2 separate regions of the Homo sapiens genome follow, and region 1 is linked to region 2. The links are contacts of gene promoters, found by promoter capture Hi-C in human tissues and cell types (Jung and others, 2019). All regions are on one chromosome and are shown on one strand. The core of a region is centred on a gene start or on the middle of the fragment in contact, and the rest is flanking DNA. Distances in the headings are between cores, read along the strand shown.

Region 1 (2,700 bases), core at 111-2,610, 58 kb after region 2:
AAAATATTGCTTTTAATGATGACACAATACTCAACCATTTTCATCTTCTAAAATGGACTTAATGTTGCTGTTTTGAGCATTTAAGCTGTTTGGGATTTCCAGTATAATGAATAACAGTGTAGTGAATATTTTTGTGCAAAGCCTTTGCTGAATTTTGGATTATTTCCTTAAGGTAGATAACCAAAGATGAAATAAGTGGTTTAGAGGTGTGGCTAATTTCAAGGTCTATGAAACTTCTTGAAAAATTATTTTCCATTAGGTTTGTACTAGTTTTCTCTCCTACTAGCAATATGATGGGCTGGGAAATCTGCGTGTAGTAATCTTAGTGGCTCTCAAAGATATTTAACTGTAACTCACCCTAAAAAACACATTTTGTATCTTAACCAAACACACCCCCACACACTCATAAATGAACTGAAACAAAGCTTTCTCTTTGAACACATAATGCATTCCTCTGATGTTGTGTTTTCTTTTATCTCCTATTCTATTTTTTTAAATGCTAGCTTTAATTCATAAGTTGATTTCAAGGCCTATGAATAGGTCATGACCCAGTTTGAAAAAACACTGGTAAGATCCTGGGAGAGGACACAGTTGAGTGTAATTCACACATGCACCTAGGAGGATCACAGGAACTACCCCTTTTAAACATATCTCAAGACCCAAATTTCCTGCCACTTCAAGAAACATGCTCGTTTGATGAAATGATCATAGCACTAGATTAAAACAACATCTGCATTGAACAGCTGACCACCTTTTAAAATCTGAATTTAGCCCTGCCTCAAAGCCTAAATGTCATTCCCATTAGTTCTACATTTTTGGATGTTTGTTAATTCAAGAAATTCTCACAGGCACACATCTTGTGATTTCTATGCATTTAATAATGGAAGATGAAGTGGCAACGATGCAGAATTTTGAATTCTGTGAGATTTTGATGTAACTTCCACCTTTGGTCTTATCAACACTTTTGTGTGTCTGTGAGTTCTTCTACCTAGGCTTTAAAAAAGATTTAGACTTTCCAGCTAACATCTGGGAAAGGCAAATGAACAGCAGTGGGTTTTCAAAAATAGAGAAAAGGACATAGAAGAAAGAAAACAGGCTGGGCGCAGTGGCTAACACCTGTAATCCCAGCACTTTGGGAGGCCGAGGTGGGCAGATCACCTGAGGTCAAGAGTTTGAGACCAGCCTGGCCAACATGGTGAAACCCTGTCTCTACCAAAAAGTACAAACATTAGCCAGTGTGGTGGTGCAAACCTGTAGTTCTAACTACTAGGGAGGCTGGTGGAAGAATCACTTGAACCCAGGAGGCAGAGGTTGTAGTGAGCCAAGATCAAGATTGTGCCCCTGCATTCCAGCCTGGGTGACAGAGTGAGACCCTGTTCCAGAAATAAAAAAATTAGAAAAGAAACCATCTCTATTTTTAGATAGATGTCAGATTAATTTTCCGGATTCAGTGTAAGAGAAATCCCTTCTTCTGTTTAACACATGAAAATTTATTTTAAATCTAAATATATTAAATACAAACATAAGAAAATATATTAAATACATATCATAGGCCACCCAGCTCTAAATTTTATGAGAGAGCTGAGGGACAAACATTTCATGAAACATCATATTTTTGATTGGTATTCTTTTTTCTTTTTCTTTTTTTCACCTGGTAAATAGAGAATACTAGAAGAAAGACAACAATGTGAAACAGTTAGACATAAAAGATTATAAAAAAGTGCCTCAAAAATTAGATCACCTTTTATTTATGATACACTTTTCCTGCAGAGAATTCAAAGCACTTCACAGACATCTTCCTTATTCATTTCCACAGTCCTTTAGTGTAAGAAACAGGCAAAAGAAACTTATATCCATAGTACAGAGGTTTAGGAGAAAAGAAGTTTTGCAGCCCAAGGACCTGCCCAGATTCCAAAAGAAGATTGGACAAAAATAATTTTACACTTAAAAATTCTAAATGGTTATCTCACACGTGCCCTGTGCCTTCAACCACAGGGGACCCTCCGGAGTTTGAGGTTCTGAGAGCAGTGTTCATTCATTAAACACAGCACCAACTGTGTGGCCAGGCGCTATTTCAAGTGCTTTTCAAATATCAACTTATTTCACGTTCATGACAACCCTAGGAAGTGGGTACTATTATTTCCATTTTACTGACGAGGAGACTGAGGCACTGAGAAAAATGACTTGCTCAAGATCACGGCTAGTCAGTGGTGGGACTGAGACAAGAGAATAGGGTCTGGAGGCAGGGAAACTAAGGCCAATTCACGCTGACTTCCTAGAACTAAATCAAGAGGAAAATCCCAACTTTCCATGCCTAAGTAGCAAAAGGACCAGAGGCTACTCCCTTTGCAACCCCTACCACCCCACTTTTCTGCAGGCATATGGAAAATGGAAAGTACCTCTGATTGGTCACAACCAATCAGACTGATTGTGAGCCACTACTTCATTTGCATGGGGTAAACATCAAGTAGCCAATGGGAAACCTCTGGTGGGTATTTGGACCCCAGAAGATTCTATAACCGGCTCTTGAGCGTTTGAGGCCCTATGCTCGGGACCTGCTCTTACCCTGTGGAGTGTAATTTTGTTTTCAATAAATTTCTGCTTTTTTGCTTAATTCTTTCCTTGCTTTGTTTGTGCATTGTGAACAATTCTTTGTTCAGAATGCCAAGAACCTGGACACCATCCACTGGTAACAGAACT
Region 2 (2,700 bases), core at 93-2,592:
TCTAAACAAGGCAGATGCACTCCCACAAAGTAACTGGTGCATTCCCTTCATGAAATCATTAACATTGTGAAGTGGTTTACACTTCAGTAAACTATGATGAGGACAACAGCACTCAGAACAGCATGTTCCTGTGTAAACATGTAGAGTCCTTTTAGGAAGAGCAGGTTGAGAGGTTTATCTTTTATCGTTAGCTGTGCATAGGATAGGCTTTCAAAGATTTTGTTTTTCAATCCACAGTTTCTACCACCCCTCTTACCTAAGATACCAATGGACAAAGAAATACTTAAGATAAACATTCTTCAATGAGACAACTATGAGAAGAAAATAGTTTCATCTATTTGCACAATGAACCACATTTAATTCAAGTTTGGGTTAATTCATTTTCCCTCACTTGGGATAAAAAAGTTGAAACATTATCGGTGGTGTGAAAGTACTGGCAGAATGCTGAAGATTGGGTAAAACCTGATATTAAGCCTGAACAAACCTCTAGCCAATTTTACATTTCTTTCATGTTCCTCACCTTCCTCTTTTTATATTCATTCAAAAGTTCTTAATGACAAAAGGAAATTTCCATCTTTAGAGAAACACAAAGAATACTCTCTTAGGAGATGTCACTGTGCAAAAGCTTCATGTCATTTATTCTCGGGTTTTTTGATGTACCTACTTCCTAGTTCTTCAGGACAAAGATTTATAGAATAAAGAACATCAAACAGTAAAGGTTTCAGGCAGTGTCCTAAAATAGACTAAAAAAATTCACAAAGCTATCTCTTGGTGCTTCTAAAACTTATTTTAAACATTTTGGAAAGGAGATATATTTTAGAAGTCCTTGAAACCGATCACATTCCATTTTTAATGGTCTTCTACTTAAAATTGTAACTTTAAATTCTGTAGTTGGCATGTATCTTCCCAGCAGCTGAATATGTGATTTTTGAAAAGGTAAATCTGCCTTATTTAAATTGTCCAGATATTTTAAAGAATGGTTCATTTGAGGGAAAAAAGGGTTTCTGAGAAAGCACTTATTTCTTTAATCCAATGTTATTTCAAAATAAATATAAAAGTCATTTTTAAAAGCTAGAAAATCAGAACTACCAAATGATTTAACCCCCTCGCCCCCCACCAAAGCAGATAAACTAGACATCTAATTCCACAAAGAAGAGAAAGGCATTGAGAAACCCTGGAGAAGTTTCAGAAATAATTCAGCAAATTAATTACCATTACCTTTTTTAGATCTGGCCATTCTTTTGGTAGAATATGACTATGGATGTCAATTTTCATCTCCACAGGATCAGAGAAGCATGCAAGGAAAGAAGTTTTGATATCAAGAGACCTTTGTGAAAACTGTGGAGTTAATTGATTTACTTAGTCCCTTTACAGCAACCTTCAGGCAGCAGTCAGTAGGCCTGCCCAACCCAGTCTAGGTCCATTAGAACTGCTTTATTAAAGTTCAAAGTTCTGTTTATTTGTTAACCAAGCTTTGGTTAACCAAGCTTTATTTGTTAATCAAGCTTTGGGTCAACACAGTTTGGTAGTCAGGACTCTTGGCACAAAACTTAAAAAAACAAAAACAAAAACAAAAACAAAAAAACAACTGTACTCAACTGTATGAGGTCAAAAGCACAGCAGGATGCTTTGACTTACAGCAGGTCAAAAATTGACTGATTTTTCATTTTAAATATTTTAACTTAGTTGTACATAGTTAATAATTAAATAGTTTGTAGTTAAAAATAAAACCATGCAGAGGGCTTTTACAGAAAAAGGATAGATCCCTGACTCACCTTTTCTTACTTTTCCTTGCACTATTCAGAAGCAGCCAGTTTTTATGATTTTGCTTTTTGTTCAGTTAGTTACTCCCATATCTTTAAATAATATTTAACAGTTGTCTTGTTCATGAAAATTTAACGTGTTGAAAAGTTATGGGGAGGTTTCACATTTTAAATCACAGAAAGAGTCCACTCTTCATATATGTTTTTTCCTCCAGTGCCTTTGTCTTGGACTCATTCATTCATGCATTTTTTTCCTTTTTTTTTTGTTTTTTAATTTGAGATGCGGTCTCACTATATTGCCCAGGCTGGTATGGAATTCCTGGGCTCAAGCAATCCACCCACCTTTGCCTCCCAAAGTGCTGGGATTACAGGCGAGAGCCACTGCACCCAGCTTCATTCATGCATTTAACAAACATTTATGGAGAACTGCTATATGCTGACGATGTAAGGTTGACTGAGAGAAAGATGATACATATCCTAAAGTGTAGGGAAAAGAAGATAGTAGCCATTTCCATTTAGCATTATCAGAGCAGTCAGGGAGGGCTTCCAATATAGCAGAAAGTGGGGCTTATATGGTCATGCCTCTAAAGAGAGCCTGGAACAAAACAGCCCTTGATTGTTCTGTGTTTACCCTTTCCTCTTCCTGAACAGCTTAAAATGTTCAAGGGACCCCAGGTCCCCTGGCAAACCCTTAAACCTGCCTTGGTTGCTGCCTTCAGCTCAGACTCCACAACACATAAATTGAGTAGTCAAAAAGCTTCCTTCTGTAATTCAGCTAGATTCTGGATAAATTATAACAGACAGCTTGAAAGAAAATAAAGGAAATCCTTGAAATCCATTTTTTTAGAAGTTCAGTGAGCTAAAACTGAATGAGTAAGCCTTAAACTAACATGGAGGCACTTGCTAATACTGAGTAAGTAAGTGCAAGCATTTTTAG

Evidence for each region. Contacts are between HindIII fragments. The study calls those that stand out against the background at their distance.
Region 1: a contact is called between a fragment that was not itself captured here and the fragment with the promoter of ACMSD in region 2, in 1 of the 25 tissues and cell types used here (mesendoderm cells).

Annotation. Positions count from the first base shown.
Region 1 is chr2:134,779,100-134,781,799 of GRCh38, reverse strand. No RefSeq gene overlaps it. Among named protein-coding and RNA genes, the nearest start is that of ACMSD, 58 kb to the left of the region's middle. The HindIII fragment of the contact is 6,962 bases long and covers 1-2,700 here.
Region 2 is chr2:134,837,258-134,839,957 of GRCh38, reverse strand. ACMSD (aminocarboxymuconate semialdehyde decarboxylase) reads right to left here and starts at 1,342. Exons shown (of 10, transcript NM_138326.3): 1 at 1,219-1,342. The coding sequence starts at 1,275. The HindIII fragment of the contact is 2,006 bases long and covers 8-2,013 here.